Regions from separate parts of the Homo sapiens genome. Here all the other regions are linked to region 1. Evidence: promoter capture Hi-C in 16 types of primary human blood cells and fetal thymus (Javierre and others, 2016). All regions are on one chromosome and are shown on one strand. The core of a region is centred on a gene start or on the middle of the fragment in contact, and the rest is flanking DNA. Distances in the headings are between cores, read along the strand shown.

Region 1 (4,934 bases), core at 1,987-4,486:
CACTCTAGCCTGGTGACAGAGCAAGACTCTGTCTCAAACAAACACACAAAGAATGGAAATTCATGCCACCAGTGAAAGCTAGGATTGATGATGGATTTATTGCCAGAACTTGGGAAGAATTTTTACTAAAGCCCTATAAAAGTGGTCAAATAAAAAAAATTAAATGAAAATCAAATCCACAAAGATTAGAAACCAGTCTTAGCCAATTTTGGTGAGTTGAGCACTCTCATATACATTTGATGGGAATGTAAATTGGCATGAACTTTCTGGAAAGCATTTTATAATAGCATATGCATTAATAGGTTTAAAAATATTCATACCTGGTGGCCCAGAAGTTGAATTTTAGGAATTTATTCTAAGGAAATAACCAGGGGTGAGGTTAAGTATTTATACAAAGGAATGCTTGTTCCAGGTTATTTATAATAGCAAAAATAAAAGAGTATATTCTAGATTATTTCCCCCATGTTGAAATAATTTTTAAAAGTATAGTGTATTCAGAGGACAGAATATTATACAGGCAGTAAAAATGTAATTTTAAGTGTCCTATTTGGAAGAAATAAAAACATATAAATAAAGAAGCCTGGAGACATCCTACATCTGATAACATGGCAGACTAAATAGTTGGGCTGATTCGTCTGCCAAAAACAACAGAAATGATAAAATAAATAATAAAATCTAAAGATATCAGGTAACAAAATAGTAATGAATTATAAGATAACATCAAAGTAAAGAATAATACCTAGAGAAATCATCTTGCAGAGATTTGATTTTTTAAAACTATGCCTAAAGTTTACTCAAGGAAGAGCATCTGATAAGAGAGCTTTCCCCCCATAAACCAAGGACTGCAAAAGTGTGGATTATCAGAAGAGATCCGGTACATTCAGGGTGGTATGGCCATAGACAAGGGCTGGGTTATCAATGTAAGGGTGAGAGATAAGTCTCCTCTCCCGTACCCCTACCACCAGGAGCCAGCAAGGCAATTTGTCTTAGTGCCACGCTGGACAACCACAAAACCACAAAGATTTGTGGTTGAGAAGTTGCAACCACAAATCACCCCTCAATATTTGCAGCCCAAATTCATATTACTATTATAGCATGGTTCAAAAATCCTCAAATTATAAATTTGGTTTACAATGACCTTGGACTGGTGATGCTGACAAGAAAAAAATTTACATGGAAGAAAAACAATATCAACCCTCTCTAGATAAATTCACTTTATCCTGGAACTCAAAGAAATTTCACAAAAATGTTTCCAAGGAAAATGAGCAGCCTGTCACACAAGGAAACAAGGTACTGTGGTATGTTCGAGGAAGGTATGTTTGAGGAATGCCCCCAATTAATGTCCTGGGGACATTATTTAATGCTCTAGGGACATTATATAATGTCCCCAGAACTCATAAATCAATAAGAAAGAGATAAACAGCTTAATAGAAACACAAAGAAAAGTCCGTTCACAGAAAAGGGAAGGCAAGAAGTTAATGAAAGTAGGAATAATGACTGACCTCACTTATAATGAAGAACATGCAAATTAAAAAATGAGGTAACATTTACTTCACCTGTCAATTGGCAAAAATTAAAGCTGGATAATGGCAGAGATGATGAGATATGGGAAATGGATGCTGTTAGGTACTGCTGGTGGAAGTGGCACCATCAAAAACAGTGGAAATAGCAGATCACAGAAAGATATCTGAGGGGACTTCAGATCTCAGAATTATCAGGCTCAACTATATTTACTATGTACAAAGAAAAGCTTAAACATATCGGTAAATTCTTTTAAAAGATCGATCTAGAATATTTGGAAAAAATCAAATAGAAATTCTAGAAATGGAAAAAATATATTAATTAAAACAAAAATATGGGTGGCCAAGTGGGGAGGATTGCTCGAGCCCAGGAGTTTAAGACTAGCCTGGGCAACATAGTGAGACCCTGTCCTTACAAAACATTTTTTAAAGATTAGCTGGGTGTGGTGGCTCATGCCTGTAGTCCCAGCTATTTGGGAAGCTGAGGTGGATTGCTTGAACCCAGGAGTTGGAAGCTGTAGTGAGCTATGATAGCACCGCTGTACTCCAGCCTAGGTGACACAGCAAGACCTCGTCTCTTAAAAAACAAAACAAAACAAAACAAAAAAACAACAACTGTGGATTTTGTAGCACATTAGAAACAGCTGAAAAGTGGATTATTAATAAAAAGGTGAAGACATAAACCCAAGTCAAATATGGGCAGACAAGAAAAATATGAAAGTGGGACAGAGACATGGAGGATAAAGTGAGATGGTCTAACACCTATGTTATATTCTAGGAGTTCATTTACTCTATAAGTGTATATTTTTAGCAAATATTGTACCAGACACTTTGCAAAGTGCTGGAGAAGAGTAAGACAAGAGGGTTTCCTGTTTCCTGAGTGGATTCTGGAGTAACACTGGGCCACCCAGTTGAGACAGACTGCCTTCAGGCTGGACGCGGTGGCTTGCGCCTGCAGTCCTAGCACTTTGGGAGGCCAAGGGGGGAAGATCGCTTGAGTCCAGAAGTTGGAGACCAGATTGGGCAACATAGAGAGATCCCCCTCTCTGCAAAAAATTGAAAAAAAGTCCCAGCTACCCAGGAGACTGAGGTGGGAGGATTGCTTGAACTCAGGGCTTCGAGGTTGCAGTGAGCTATGATCTCACCACTGCACTCCATCCTGGGAGACAGAACAAGACTTCTCTCTCTCTTTCTCAAAAAACACAAACAAACAAACAAACAAAAACCCCCCACAAAAAACAGCTCCGATGCTGGCTCCTCCAGGAAGCCTTCCCTGACTACACATACACACACGCACGCACACTACCCGGGGTCAGGAGCCTCTTAAGTGAGCCGGTTAGATCCAGTGCGCCCCCTATCTCCTCTGCCCCTACGCCTCGCGCAAGGCCCTCGCAGCCGGAATAGTCGCGCATTGACCGACTGGACTCTAAAGCCCCTTGGGGCAGGTGCTGTGTCCAGTAGTGTATCTGGCGATGCACCGAGTCCTTTCCACGGAGGGCAAGCAGGTGAAATGGCACGGAAGTGGAAGGGGCCTAGCCACAGAGCGCCTCGAGCTGGGCAGTCAATCCTGGGGAAGCCCTGGTGGTCTTCGCCTCGCCGGGTTCGGAACAGCAGGCTGGGATCAGCAACCATCGAGACGCATCCGCCGAGACCTCCGAGCATCCTAGAGAGGACACGGAAGCGAGTCTTTCCTTACGCACCTGTCTAACAGCGTCCGCAGCTCACTTCCGGACCGCGGATAGCACTGGCGACCCTAGCGGGTGAGAGGCCCTTCAGGGCCGCGGCGGGTGAGAGCCTCTTCAGGGCCGCAGCGGGTGGCGGGCGAAGTGGTAAACGGGCGCGGGGACGGGTTTTGGTGCCGCTACGGGGCTCGGCGGCAGCGGGGTTGCAGTAGAGCCCGTCTCCCTCCGCTCAGCCCCGGCTGAGGGCGGCAAGTCTCTCAGGAGCTGCCTTCAGCGGCCCCGAGGCCCTGCGGGTCTGGACGCTGAGGGGCCGCCGCGCTGTAGGCTCAGGTAGGAGCGAGGCTGATCCCGCTCTGCCAGGCTTGGCTTAGTGCAGGGCTGGCCACGAACCCGAAGAGATCTTGAACCAAAGCAGAACTCTGTGCAAAGTGAAAGTAATCACATAGGACACTTATTTAAAGAATAGTGATGAGCCAGCCTGGTCAACATAGCGAGACCCTGTCTCTACAAAAATTGAAAAGTAGCCGGGCGTGGTGGCACGCGCCTGAGGTCCCAGCTACTCGGGAGGCTGAGGCAGGAGGATCGCCTGAGCCCAGGAGTTCAAGGTTGCACTGACTTACATTCATGCCGCTGCACTCCAGCCTGGGCAACATGGGGAGACCCTGTCTCTACAAAAATAAATAATTAGCTGGTCATGGTGGCACTCGCCAGTAGTCCCAGCTACTCGGGAGGCTGAGGTGGGAGGATCGCTTGATCCTAGGAGGCAAAGGCTGCAGTGATCGCACCACTGGTCTCCAGCTGGGGTGATAAAACCCTGAGATCCTGTCTCAGAAACAAAACAAAAGAGTCACAATGGGTGGGGGGAGATAAAGAATAGCAATGGGGCAATTTCTATTTGTCAAATGGCAGAGATAAAAGATGAATGAGGATCTTTCTTGCCTCCAGGGAATCTGTTAGAGGGAGACACATGGGTAAACATTTGCACTGTAGTGCATTAAATGCACTAGTGGAGTGAACCAATGCAATAGCTAGAAAGGAATGAAAGAGAAATCTCAATGTTGCAGAGTCAATGAATAGACTGAAAATATAAACTTGGTTTAAGTGGGGGTAGATAAATACACAAACTCACAATAGAATATTTAGCAGAAGCTTTGGGGTGTGCCTCCTGCCAGCTGCCCATTCTCTGCTCCAGTCAGGTGATCTTTCCGTTTTCTGACAAGCAGGATCTCCTTCCCCTGGTGCTTTGGACTTCCAAGTCTGTCTTCCCAGTCTAGGTCTTCCGCATAATCCACTTGGAGGTAAATAGGACTCATTCTCCAGTCTACTTCAAGCCTCTTCTTTTCCTTGAGTACTTGGACTTAGATTAGTTTTCTCTCTTTTTGACTTCACATTTTTTTTTCAATCTGTACCATGTATTTTGGGAGGCAGTTATCATCTAGTCTCTTTTTTTTCTTCTGAGAAGTAGGAGGAGTAGCACTCATCCTACAGAAGTGTTTTAAGTATTAGATGAAATATGTGTTCACATGCTTTCTAAAGAGTAAAGCCTGTACAAGTTAGAAATCTTTAGGTCATTTGTCATAATGGTATATATGTTGCTCCATTGTCTTTTTCAGGTTGAGCGCACCATCACATCTAAGCCATCAGCAAGTTTGTTGGTTTTAATCTCCAAAATACGTCTTGATTTTGTCTGACTCTTTGCCACCACCCTGATCTAAGCCCTTATCATCTGCTT
Region 2 (4,420 bases), core at 386-2,885, 160 kb after region 1:
GTGTGTGTGTGTGTGTGTGTGTGTGTGTGTGTAAAAACCCTGACAAATAAATCAAAGAAGGCTATGAAGAGAGGATTCTCATGCTTGTGTGCCTGATAACAAAACTATCACAAAAGACTCCGCAAAACTACAAGCTTGCACAAAGGCCATCCCAACATTAAAAAAAATATTTCTGCAAGGACACCTGCCCAGCAACTGCCTGTCCAACCTTGGTGAGGCGTCACCCTTGTTACTGATCTTTGTAGCGAAGGATAATTATTTCAAAACTGATAAGAAATCCTCCTCATATTTTCCTTGGAGCCTCTTTGTCTTGCTTTACTTCCCTGAATTTGCACATAGTTTATAAAGGCATGCAGATTCCCATTGCAATACTCTACACCCAAATAAATATCTTCTTCTTTCAGAGAACTTCTCTCTGTTTGTAGTTAGGTTGACAAGAGCTTCATCCCAAGAGGCTTTGGGCTGAGACTGTCCTCTGTGCAGTGGGGTAAACTCATCATAGAAACAAGTCTATCCAATGGAAGTTTCCAGAATACTCACCCCCACACTTTTCCATACTTTTTATGACATTCCATGTCAAACATACAAAAGCCCTGGGAGGAGAAACAAAATAATATTTGATTATTATTTTTAATGTACTTAACCCTGCCTCTAATTGGGATGAAAACAGTCGAAGCCAATGAAATCAGACTTGCTGGCAGTTAGAGGAAGCTTATTTGGAGACGTCATAAAGGAAATAAGAGAAAACAGAGGAGGTATTTGAAAAGGGAAATTTAAAATCACTCTTGAATTCTCTCCAAGTGTTGTGGATACTGAATGACTTATCCTTGTGTATAAATACTAAGTACCTCTTTGTCTTTCTGATGTCTTTTTGCTTTTTCATGTGTTGTCTTGAAAATCTCATGAATCCCTGAATGATCACCTCCAGGGGCACATGGGGAAACTGAGGCCAAGGGAAAGTGAATTAGCATCAGAAGAGAATGCACAGTGTTTTATCTCTTTGTCATCCTTTTCATTTATTTCATGAGCTCGCTCTAGAGTTCTAGCAGAATTGGAAAGTTACAGACACCAGGGAACTCCTTTAGTCTAGCAGATTTAGGTAAGTATGAGGCATGTTGTTGAGTGAGAAAATGAACGAGTGACAGAATGACAAAGTGAACTCACTTTCCAGTTTTCCAGCTTAACATGGAAGTTCTGAGAAAATGTCCCCTCTACACATCGGACACAGCAAATTACAACACTTGCTCAGAGTTTTCACTGAAACTTAAAAACAAACCTTCCTGTATCGACATTTCAGGGGTGACATTTTAACTGTGCAAACAAAGGTCCCAGGAATGTGCATCTTGGGGGTACATCTACTAAAGAGTTGACCTGGAAAAGGTGGCGGGGAAATTATTGCTTTTGCACAGGGAAAAAATATGAAATTCCTGGATAGTAATTAGACAACAAAGCCCTCACCTGAGAGAATTAGAATCTGAGAAACAAGCCTCAGGTATGTGGGAAAGATGATGTAAGCCAAAGAGCTGACTGCTGCGGCTGGCCATGTGGACATGGGCTCCTAATTTTCCATCCAGGGCCCAGACCCTGGGCAGAGCATCAGACTAGGTTAGGCACAAAGGCTCGGCCAAAGTTCACGGTCCACGTGGCACATATTATATTCTATTCAGCAAAATTAAATATTTAATAATTTCATCAAATCATCCCCTTTCTAGTGATTTTGCATGTGATTCCGCCTTTGTGTAAAAAAAAAACCCCACAAACTCATTTTGTGCTTAAATATCTGAGTTTGATTGACCACCACTGTCTCATCTCAGTTATATCCAGTCTGTGATCAGACTCACCCATAAGGTGCAGCCTTTGAAGGAAAAGAAATAAAGCAGAACCCCTTTGTTCTGTCTCTCAAAGCTGCAAAAGATGTCATGGGGAGTAAGAGCTGGGGTAGAGCCATGGAGATACCCTCAGGGAATTTAGCATTTTTCGGAGAGGATTGAAGCAGGTGCAAATGACCCAAAGGTAAATACCTGGGCTCCCTAATAAATTGAGTTTCAAAGCTGTCCAGAAGGAAGGGAAAAAAGGCTACTCAAGAGCTCTTGCTACAGAGAGGAAAGTTTGACTCTCATGTACACAGATAACAAGTCACAATCAGGGGGTCCTTTTCCTACTTTTAATACTAACTAAGTATGACTGTACCTTCCTGGGAACCTGCATAGAGCAAAAAGAAAACCTTCTTTATGGCGCTCACAAAGTTTGCACATCAAGTTCTGAGCATCAGGTTGCTGATCTACCTGAGATTTGGGCTGTTCAACTGAGGCAAACCTGAGGTTCCTGAGAGTTAGCAAGAGAGCCCTTGGGTAAACATTGCCATGTTCTGGGTGATGCCTACACACTGTTTCTGAAAGTGTAAAACTTCAGACCTTCCCCCTGAGGAGAAGCATTTTTACTGATGGAACTAAGCTGCTCTTGGCAATCATAAGAAGCAAAAGAGTGAGCTCAAAAACACTCACCTTATGGTAGGACAAAATATTTCCCAAAAAAGGCAGAGGTGTGGGCCCTGGAATTCCAAGCTTCTTAAAAAGTCCATGTGAATGGGTTCCATATCTACAAAGTGAAACAGAAATCAAGTCACAGCGATTGTGACTTTATAGATATAGGGGTTGATGAGTCATTGACTGAGGAACTGGAATGCTCAAGAGAACGAGGTAACATTAAGGCAAGAAATAATAACAGTAACTCTGACGGCAATGATTATATTTGTTCATCAGGTCCTTTCCTGCCTCCACCATGAGACACCAAAAAGTTACAATGATTAGCTCAAAGCAGCTGAAGTCTTCATGGTCCCAGTCCTGGAATGAATATTTGATAAATGTTCTCAAATGTGAATGATCCTGAGAGGTTCAGGCAGGAATTCTTCCAGGTCACTTTGTTCCTTTACGTCTATTTAGTAAGTGGCCTCTCCCCAAATTTGGGGATTCTCATCCTAGGTAGAAAGGGTGACATTTTTTTGTCTTCCGCAGTGATGATGAGATTTTGCATCACTGCAGCCACTCAGTCACAGAGGGTCACTGAGAGCCTATGGTGACCCTGTCTTTAGAATTTGCTCAGAGGCTTTTATGCTTTCCCTTCCCTCTAAGCTCTGACCCTGTTTTAGGATCTGGTTCTTCTTAAACCGTCATTCACAGAGAGGTCTTGGAGGAGTCACAGAGTCCTTATTTCTACAGATTGACAACTGTGCTCAAGGCTTCCATTGACCTCATAGAAATGTGAGCAGCTTTCAGCTACACCTCAGTCTCTGTGATCAGATGATCTGGTTGATTTGACCTATTGGGAAGGATGATTGACTCATATTTCCCTGAATGACAGTGTGCAGAAGAATCACAACTAAAGAACCAATTTCCAGGTCATTCCTCCTCTTGTGGAATCTAGCCTTCCAACTGGTGATATTCATCTGATTAGCACAGTGCCAGTGATATGGTCTGAATCTGTGCCCCTACCAAAATCTCATGTTGAAATGCAATCCCCAATACTGGAGGTGGGGCCTGGTAGGAGATGATTGGATCCTAGGGGCAGTTTCTCATCGTTTCACACCATCCCGCCTTAGGTGTTGTCCTCGTGACAATGAGTTTTTATGAGATCTGGTGGTTTGAATGTGTGGCACCTTCTCCCCAGCCTCTCTTGCTTCTGCTCCAGCCATGTAAGATCTGTCTGCTTCTCCTTCACCTTCTGCCATGATTGTAAATTTCCTGAGACCTCCCTAGAGGAAGAAGTCACTATGCTTTCTGTACAGCCTGCAGAACCATGAGACAATTAAATCCCTTTTCTTTATAAATACCCAGACTCTGGTATTTCTTTATAACAATGCAAGAAAAGACTAACATAGCCAGACATGCTAATTTTTCTCAAGGTGGTCAATCACAAAGCAGTCAGTTTATTGCATCTGCCCATCAACTATCTCTGTAGGAAAACCCATTAAGGCTGGTGCTCCCTAAGGCAGGCCTGCTTGCAACTCATCTTTGATGGGTCATGTATGAACTCCCCGAACTGGGGTTTCTGGATGTCTGAAGACCTTCCCAGTCTGATGTTACTGAGGGTTGGAAGACTGGAGGAAGAAGAAAAGCTGATGGAAGAGGTCACCATCCTTCAACTCAACCATGAATCTGCTAGTCCCACAAGGTTGGCCCCAGAGAGGCAAATTAGGAAAATGTAGCTGAAAAGCATGGTGTGTATAAATGGATCCATATGCTTCATATGGGCTTTTAGCTAAAAGGTAGGGGCCTTCGAATGTCCACATTCCCTCCTGTTTATAACAAAAGATGTAGTATTCCACATAAGTAAACATAAAATGTTCCAGACAGTTGAATTAAAACCTTGTTTTCTCTTCTTTAAAGGGTAGCCCTTAAGACAGTATAGGTTCCAAATATTC
Region 3 (4,703 bases), core at 1,506-4,005, 240 kb after region 1:
CCTCAGCCTCCCAAAGTGCTAGGATTACAGGCGTGAGCCACCGCGCCCGGCTGATGATATTTTCAAGGAACCAATTTTTGGTTTTCTTTATTGCTTTTAAATCTGTATTTCATTAGGTTACACTTTAGTTTTTATTATTTTCCCCCTTTCTGCTGGCTTTAGTTTTACTTTGCTCTTCATTTTTCAGTGTGTTATGGTATACATTTAGGTTATTGATTTGAGATTATCTGACATTCACAACTATAAATTTCCCTCTGAACATTGCTTTGGCTACATCCCATACGCTTTGGCATATCATGTCTTCATTTTTCTTCATCTCAAAACAATTTCTAATTGTCCTTTTGCTTTCTACTTCAGCTCATTGGTTACTTAAAAGTGTATTGTTTAACTTCCACATATTTGTGAGTTTTCCAATTCTCTTTTCTCTCTCTCTCTTTTTTTTTTTCTTTCGAGAGACATTTTCATTCTGTCACTCAGGCTGGAGTACAGTGGCACAATCTCAGCTCACTGCAACTTGCGCCTCCCTGGTTCAAGCGATTCTCATGACTGGGTCCCAAGTAGCTGGGACTACAGGCACATGCCACCATGCCCGGCTAATTTTTGTATCAGTAGAGATGGGGTTCCGCCATGTTGGTCAGGCTGGTCTCAAACTCCTGACCTCAAGCAATCTGCCTGCCTCAGCCTCCCTAAGTGCAATTCTCTTGCTTTTATTGATTTCTAGTTTCATTCCATGGTAGTTGAAGGACATTTGCCGTATTGTTTCTATCCTGACTACTATTTCATGGAAAAACATGATTCATTAAAGCAGCAGGCTATCCAAAGAGACTCTAGTCCAGTAGATAAAGGCTAAGAAGTCAGGGAATTTAATTCTGTTCCTTTGGTCACTCTGAAGATGCAGAAGGGACCACTGATCTCACTGCTATAGTGGAGGCCCCTATGTGTGGATCTGCTCTTGCTCAGCCATTGGCATGGAAGAGGGGCAAAGGTCATACAGGAAGAGGGGCAAAGGTCATACAGGAAATGGATCCTGGTTGAGAACCCTGAAGTCTATAGGTAGAGAAAATTGTAATTGTTGTAGGTAAATTTCACATTTTTCACTATGATTTATTTTTTCTTTTTCTATTTAATTTTCCTATAGCACTCTTTCCATTTCTTACCCCAGTTTTTGAAGCCCTAAATATCGGTTTGTTTCCAAAAGATGTTACCCATTTTTTAAAAAATTCCATTGAAAGGATGAAAGAAAGTCGCCTCAAAGATAAACAAAAGGTAAAATCTGGTGGTGGTGACATGAGAATGTTCACTTTTTTATTATATTTTTGGGCTGTTTACATACGATTTGTGCACTTATCTGTGTTTTTTAAAGGCAGCTAGAGAACTTTAGACCAAGAGGGTTTTTACATTTTGCTGGGAATAAAGAAGGTGAAGCTTGGGGAAGAAAGAGAATGAGTGAAACAGCATTTGGAATTTAATAATAGGCATGACTTTAGTATATTATGGCATAAATAATGTAGAGATAGAAGCTTTACCGCTTCTCTTCCTTTCAGTAAATTGTCAATAAATTTGACTGTATAAAGTTGCCAATAAATCTGACTGGATAAAAATGACTGATAAAATTATTTTATGGGTATTACAATTTCCCTAGTTCTTATATTAGTAAGGAATCATTTCAAGTCCAAGCCTGTTATTTTTACACCTTCTTCAGCAGGAGTCCCTACCAGGCTACCTGCAGAAGTAAGTGTATGTTAAATTTCAGTCCTGTCATAGCCTGGACTGGGCAGGGGTCTTCTCTGGGCATTGTGGGTGCAAGCTGACTGATCCAACTTTGCCTTTATGAGCCCTGGAGACCAGCCCGATGATGATGCCTCAAAGTCAGGAATGCAGGACTGGGTCCCCTAGGTGACACTGAACGTTGTATAGAGTTCTAGGAGTGGGGAGTATTTGAAGATGCATTCAAATCAGCTCCCCTGGGATTATCCAGAGATTAATCTATTTGTCCATTGGTTAAGAATAAAAGCAGCAGAACAAATAGGATTGAAATTCAGGACTTCTTCCTGTTCAAGAAATTATGACTAGAGAATGAGCTGACAACTCTTTGGCCAGGAAGTTGTGTCCAAAGGCCAGAGAAGCTGAGGATCAGGGAGAGCAAAGACTAAAAAGCAGATAGACATGACAAAAGGATTTCTCTCAAGGAAACATCCTGCTCTCCAAGGTTTTAGATGCATGATTTTATTCTAAACATTGGTGACTCAGGCAACACCCATTACACTTCTGAACTTAAAGAGAGCATATTCTCAGGAGGGGTGCTTAGGACTGGACTCCTGATTCACTTCTGACTTCACAAGTGACTTTCTGTCATTAAAATTTCTCTTTTTGCTTCCAGCATCGAGTAGATTTCTTTCAACAGATGATCGACTCCCAGAATTCCAAAGAAACAAAGTCCCATAAAGGTAACCAAGAACTGCATCTGGGGGCTACTGATGGGGACACTCAGAGAGAAGGCCCTGTTCTGAAAATGTGCAGAAAGTTTTCCAGGAAAATGAGAATTTCTTCCACATTGCAGAAAGGCACACATTTGGATGTTATAAATGATAGCTGGAGGCACTTTCTAGAAGCACACAGGCATAGCCACATTCCAGGCTTGAAGGGCAACCCTGAACAAGTGTGGCACTCCCGGAGGTCGGTCAGTGATCTGTGGATCACCCACATCAGATAAAATGCCAGTTCTCAGCCTCCTCCAGATCCACTTACTCAGAACTTGGAAACGTACATCTAACATCCAATCAGGAGACACACTGTCCAAATAAGGGTGATTTTAACTGGAAACACTTGGTGAAAGTGTGTTCACAAGGTTAATCTACTGACGGGTTTTATTTTTCCCTATATAATGGAAAAGTAACTGTGAGAAAACCTTTAAGACTGTGTAATGTCCTTTTCCTCTTCAATTTTTCACCTACTAGTTTTACCACCCATGGATGGTTTTGACTGAAACCATCATTACTATGATGGTCGCAAAATAATGACCATGATCGATTTCAAGCCATCAAAGTTTGACAACCATATGACATAATTGTGAATATTAACAATTAATTCTAAAGAGCAGGAAGTGGAGGCTGGGCATGGTGGCTCACGTCTGTAATCTCAGCACTTTGGGAGGCCGAGGCAGGTGGATCACCTAGGGTCAGGAGTTCGAGACCAGCCTGGCCAACATGGCGAAACCCTGTCTCTACTAAAAATACAAAAACTAGCCGGGTGTGGTGGCGCACACCTGTAATCCCAGCTATTTGGGAGGCTGAGGTGGGAGAATCACTTGAACCAGGGAGGCGGAGGTTGCAGTGAGCCAAGATCACACTACTGCACTCCAGCCTGGGCAACAGAGTGAGACTCCATCTCAAAAATAATACTAAATAAATAAAATAAGTAAAAATAAAGAGCAGGAAATGTTTAACTCAAACACACCATTGTAAATATATCTATGTCTTCATCTACTTGTCTATCTATGTGTCATCTATCATCTGTCCATCTGTCCCAGTGCAACTTTTTGTGAAAAGGGAAACAGTCTATCGTTTTGTTGCTCAATACAGACATCACTAGATACATGGCTATTGAGTACTGAACATGTAGCTGCTGCCAATGAAGAATAATTTTTAAGTATATCTAATTTTAATTAATTAAATTTAAGTAGCCACCTGTGGCTAGTGCCTACCCTACTGGGTAGCAGATCTACACTTTGAGATTATGATTTCATTTCAATTCCATGTCCTGGGGTTCATGCCAACTGAATAAAATAATTGGAAAGTTGAATTTACCCACAACATCATCATGAAAATTATCACCAGTAAATCACAACTCTGTAGACCTTTCTCACACTCATCTTGTATTGTTTTCAGTTATGAAATACATGGTTGGAGTGGGCACCATATTTATTTTAGTACCCTAGGTCTCTAAAGTTCTTAATCCAGTCCTGATCAAACAGACCAATGGCTGACTGTGCTAAGCTTTTCTTGGGAGAAATATCAAGAGGGAGGCAAACCTGTAGTCATAAATGCTGTTCGGTGAGCATGAAGTGGAGCAGAGAGAATGGGCATGTACTAAGGAAGATGCTATTCGGGCCAGGATGGAATAGGCACTATGAATTCCACTCACTAGACCCTATTGTTTTTATATTTCATGTTGGCCAATGCCCATCTATACATGCATTCTTCCTGCTGTATTATTATTATTATTATTATTATTATTATTATTATTATTATTATTATTTGAGATGGAGTCTCACTCTGTCACCCAGGCTGGAGTGAAGTGGTCTGATCTTGGCTCACTGCAACCTCTGCCTCCCAGGTTCAAGCAATTCTCCTGCCTCAGCCTCCCGAGTAGCTGGGACTACAGGTGCCCACCACCACACCCAGTTGTGGGTTTTTTTGTAATTTTAGTAGAGATGGGGTTTCACCATGTTGGCCAGGCTGGTCTCAAAATCCTGACCTCAATGATCCTCCTGTGTCAGCCTCCCAAAGTGCTGGGATTACACGCTTGCACCACTGTGCCCAGCCTGTTTTATTAAAACCACTCATTGGACTACAGTCAATCACCTCACTTCTAGATTTTTGTCTCTGTAGCTTTCGTATATCCAGAGGTCATCCATTTTGAAGACTAGTGCCCTAGGAACTCTATTACTTGATGTCACTCAAAGATGTAATCCATGCTTCTCA
Region 4 (4,694 bases), core at 1,896-4,395, 200 kb after region 1:
TCTCAACCACTAGCTGTTCATTGTGATCACCTGGGAGTTTTAAATATTCACGATGCTTGTGTCATCTCAGAGATTCTAAAATACTTTCCCCACAGTGTTGCTTTAAACATCCTCTCCATTGCTTCTCATGTGAAACCAAATTTGAGAATCACTAAATCAAGACATTTCTTCCAGAGTAGAAAATCTCCCAGAGGTCAGGGTCATCCTGACTGTTAGAACTCACCTTCCAGGACCCTTCCTGCTGACAAGCCAAGCTAGTTCTCAACCCAACAATAATTCTATGAATGTTCTTCCCTCTCTCTTTCTTATCCTCTCCCCATCCTTCATGTCCTGGTTCAATCCCCAACCTCCTCCGAAAAGCCCTTCCATCTAGTCCAGGGCCCATTCAGTCCTCTGCTTTGTTATTCATTACTGCAGGCTGTTATCATCACCTGATTTCATATTTGTCACTAAATCATTCATGTTTGTTTACTAAGTTCTCTCTATATCTAAGAATGTCTGTCCTCAGCCCCTTAAAAAATATCACTTCATTTTATTTCTTTCATAAAATTCAAATAGCACTTTGCAGGGGACATTTCCATGGCAAGCATTCAGTAAATGTTCAAGGAGTGATTTGCAGTTGAATTGGGGTTCCTGGCCACAAATTTTAAGGTATTTAATTTTTAATTTTAATCTGACATTTATGTATGTGTGGGTGTTTGTGGGTGTGTTTGTCTGTCTCTTAGAAAAATACATTCATGTCACTTTAAAATTAAAAATAACATGGTGTTACCTTTATAGAAAAGTTGGGATCTTTTCCCTGATGAACTTAAAGACAGTTGTCATTGATTGATGTCAAACAAGACCTTCTAAGTCTTATTTCTAGGATTCATGCATTCAATATGCAACTCCTTCTCTGAAGCAGGATTTCTGCATGGGAATGGAGGAGGGTAGAGATGGTTTTCATCCTATTTGTGGCTTAATGGAAGCTTTGTAGCCAATCTGTGCATCTGTACAAATAGGGGGCTCAGTGCGGGAGAAAGCAGGCTTGTGGCACATTTGGGAAGGGGAAGATAGTCCCTAGCCCAGCTCCCAGGCATCTACAGGCTGATGTTTCTCAGTCTCTATAGCAATTTGCTTGCCCTCCACTCAACTGAGATTGGAAGTTACAGTGTTGCTGACTTGATAAGAGTGAGGCTAAAACTATGGTCAAAATGCTGTAGGACTTGAGAAGTTCCCCATTTGCACTGCTCTTTGTAGCCAAGATGAGATGTTAAAAGCAAAAGCACAGGCCAGGCGCGGTGGCTCATGCCTGTAATCCCAGCACTTTGGGAGGCCGAGGCAGGCTGATCACTGAGGCCAGGAGTTCAAGACCAGCCTGGCCAACATGGTGAAACTCCGTCTCTACTAAAAATACAAAAATTAGCTGGGCTCAGTAGTGCCCACCTGTAATCCCAGCTACGGGGGAGGCTGAGGCAGGAGAAGTGCTTCAACTCAGGAGGCGGAGGTTGCGATGAGCCGAGATCACTTCACTGCACTCCAGCTCAGGGCCCACAGAGCAAGACTCTGTTTCAATAAATAAATAAATAAATAAAGTCTCCTGAAGCCCTCTTCCCATCATTTCATAGGATGGGTTTAATTAGGAGGGGTTACTGGACTTTTCAGAAGTCAATGGCTGCTTGTATAATTAAAATGTATAATATCTACTCAAGATTTTTTTTTTTTTTTAGACAGAGTCTTGCTCTGTCGCCCAGGCTGGAGTGCAGTGGCAAGATCTCGGCTCACTGCAAGCTCCGCCTCCCAGGTTCACGCCATCCTCCTGCCTCAGCCTCCCAAGTAGCTGGGACTACAGGCACACGCCGCCATGCCCGGCTAATTTTTTGTATTTTTAGTAGAGACGGGGTTTCACTGTGTTAGCCAGGATGGTCTCGATCTCCTGACCTTGTGATCCGCTGGTCTTGGCCTCCCAAAGTGCTGGCATTACAGGCATAAGCAACCACGTCCAGCCTACTCAAGATTATTTTGCAAGTTTTAACATATACAAATTTAATTGTATATGGCTTTTCAAAAATAGTTTACCATACTGCTTGAGAATCTAGATTTAATATTTAAAAGTCATCCTTTTTACTAAGAATTTCTATCAAGATCAGGCTCAGTGGTTGATGTCTGTATTCCCAGTAATTTGGGAGGCTGAGAGAGAAGGATTGCTTGAGCCCGCACTTTGAGACCAGCCTAGGCATTATAGCAAGACCCCATATCTACAACAACAAATAAAGTCTGGACATGTTGATGCATGCCTGTAGTTCCAGCTACTCGAGAGGCTAGGGCAGGAGGATCACTTGAGCCCAGGAGTTTAGGGCTGTATTTCTGCTGACTTTTAAGAATGTCGAGGATTTACTTGTCACATAATTCATAATTCCTCAGGGCAAGGAGACATGGAACGTGGGTCAGTGATGATAATGAGCCAGTGCCATTTCCAAAGGCTCAGCTTTGGGATCTCTTCCAGCAAGCAGGCATAGAGGGGCTCTCAGATGACAGCATTGCTGTCGCAGGCCTCATCCTTACCAGCTCCTGGGGTAAATATTTCACTCTTCAGAAAGCAGGATGTGTCTGTTCTGACCCCTACTACCCCAAAGAAGAAGCTCAAATCATCTTATTGGAGTCCTTGATGTTGTATGTGCTGCTTGTAGTGACATCAGCCACATCCCTGGTGGCTAAGGTGGCTGGAGTCCACCTGGCAATCCAGGTAGCTGTTCTCCTCTTCTCTCCTTTCACACCCATTGTTCCCAGACATGCATTATTTCCAGAGAGAGGGGCATTCTTTGGTCAGGAGCATCTCTAGCTTTCCGTCTTCTGCAGAACCATTTGAGGGGGTGCACAGGAAGCAGCACAGTATGCTGCTTCTCACTGAAGCCGTCATCTTCATCTCCTTCCCTGTGTCTCCATTACAGGCCCTCTTGACAACAGAATCCTGGTGGATCATTCTGAATGTACAGGAATGGCAGCTGAGGCCCAGCCAAAAGCTCTTGCTGTATGCAGGAAAGTGGCTTGGTCACCAGAGTCCTAGGGAAAGAGTCCCAGGAAAAGTTTTGCAATATGCAGCAATCTAACCCAACTAAACTCAACAAATCTTTCTGGATGCCCACTCTGTGTAAAGGACTCAGCTAGGGCCTGCAGACATAGTGGTGAATAATACTCAGACTGTCCTTAAGAAGCTCATGCTCTGGTAAGGGATCACCACTGCTCATGTGTGGAAACCAACACGGTGCTGGAGAGGAGGAAAGACAATAATAGAACCATGGGAGGGGGGAAAGAAGTTGCCCAGAGGAGGAAGCAGTCATGTCTGATTCCTAAATCAGAGAAAGCCTCTAATAGGAGAGGTCTGGGCTTGGTGCAGTGGCTCACCCCTATAATCCCAGCACTTTGAGAGTCCAATGCCAGAGGATCACTTCAAGCCAGGAATTCGAGACCAGCCTCGGAAACATAGACACACAGTCTCTACAAAAATAAAAATAAAAAAATAAAATTAGCTAGGTGTGCTGATGCATACCTGTATCCTCAGCTACTCCAGAGACTAAGGCAGGAGGATCGCTTGAGCCTGGGAGTTTGAGGTTACAGTGAGCTATGATTGTGCCACTGCACTCTAGCCTAGGCAACAGAGTGAGAGTGTGTCTCAAAAAAATAAATAAAACAAATTATTATATGGGTATTGATGTGGTTTGGATTTGTGACCCCACCCAAATCTCATGTCAAATTGTAATCCTCAATGTTGGAGGAGGGGTCTGGTGGGAGGTGATTGGGTGTCATGGGGTCAGACTTATCCCTTGCTGTTCTCATGATAGTGAGTGAATTCTCATGAGATCTGGTTGTTTAAAAGTGTGTAGCAGCTCCCTCTTCTCTCTCTCCCTCCTCCTTCTCTGGTCAATATAAGATGTGCCTTCGCACCATGATTGTAAGTTTCCTGAGACCTCCCCAGTCATGCTTCCTGTATAGCCTGCAGAATCGTGAACCAATTAAACCTGTTTTCTTTATAAACTACCCAGACTCAGGTACTTCTTTATAGCAATGCATGTACAGGCTAACATAGGTATATTGCGTGGGAAAAAAAGAAACATAAATGAATAAAAACTTAAAAAGAAGTCTATCTGATCTGGGTTTGAAAGGATGAATAGTAGTCTTCTAGGGAGTATAGAGAAATTCTAGGCAGTGGAAACTTCCTGGATAAAGATGTGTATGTGTGCATTATTTTGATGGATTTGAAGTATTTTGGATTGAAGGCAGCCATGAAGATAAGGGCTGGTTAGAGATTGAATGCCAATGACTTCACAAGAGTTTCTGATAAGAATCTATAACTCTTGGGGCTTATCAAACACTGATTAGTTTACTGATATCACACAATATAAAGTCAAAGGAGGTCAAAATAAGGGTGGCCATAATTCTTCACCAACTGTGAATGTGAGAAGAGCACCCCAATCCCTCCACATGAGGAGCAGCATAGGTAGCTTTTCTACTGGCTGCAGCTATGGACCCAACTCATTCCCCAGCACATAAATATTCCTGTTAACCTTAACTAAATCACCTCTGGGCAGAGAAAGAAAGCTCTACATGCACAGCCCAGCCAAAAGCGGCACACAGCTGAAAGAAAAACTCAGAAGATAGATTTGAAAAAGAAAATGCGATGGATCTCATTCCAAACTTTGCCATGGAAATGTGTG

The links. Contacts are between HindIII fragments. The CHiCAGO score rates a contact against its expected background, and 5 or more counts as called.
Region 2: a fragment that was not itself captured here is called in contact with the fragment with the promoter of ZSCAN25 in region 1 in 1 of 17 cell types (erythroblasts); the score reaches 5.6 in erythroblasts.
Region 3: a contact is called between a fragment that was not itself captured here and the fragment with the promoter of ZSCAN25 in region 1, in 2 of 17 cell types (erythroblasts and M1 macrophages). The highest score is 10.5, in erythroblasts.
Region 4: a fragment that was not itself captured here is called in contact with the fragment with the promoter of ZSCAN25 in region 1 in 2 of 17 cell types (erythroblasts and M1 macrophages); the score reaches 6.8 in erythroblasts.

Annotation. Positions count from the first base shown.
Region 1 is chr7:99,613,710-99,618,643 of GRCh38, forward strand. It overlaps ZSCAN25 (zinc finger and SCAN domain containing 25), which reads left to right and starts at 3,237. Exons shown (of 8, transcript NM_145115.3): 1 at 3,237-3,307; 2 at 4,816-4,934. RefSeq lists enhancers at 2,383-3,362, 2,953-3,272. The HindIII fragment of the contact is 2,601 bases long and covers 1,749-4,349 here.
Region 2 is chr7:99,777,488-99,781,907 of GRCh38, forward strand. It overlaps CYP3A4 (cytochrome P450 family 3 subfamily A member 4), which reads right to left. Exons shown (of 13, transcript NM_017460.6): 2 at 2,505-2,598; 3 at 541-593. Among named protein-coding and RNA genes, the nearest start is that of CYP3A4, 4.5 kb to the right of the region's middle. The HindIII fragment of the contact is 1,853 bases long and covers 710-2,562 here.
Region 3 is chr7:99,854,453-99,859,155 of GRCh38, forward strand. It overlaps CYP3A43 (cytochrome P450 family 3 subfamily A member 43), which reads left to right. Exons shown (of 13, transcript NM_057095.3): 8 at 1,139-1,266; 9 at 2,381-2,447. Among named protein-coding and RNA genes, the nearest start is that of OR2AE1, 20 kb to the right of the region's middle. The HindIII fragment of the contact is 2,475 bases long and covers 1,519-3,993 here.
Region 4 is chr7:99,815,361-99,820,054 of GRCh38, forward strand. It overlaps the pseudogene CYP3A137P. Among named protein-coding and RNA genes, the nearest start is that of CYP3A43, 10 kb to the right of the region's middle. The HindIII fragment of the contact is 4,358 bases long and covers 967-4,694 here.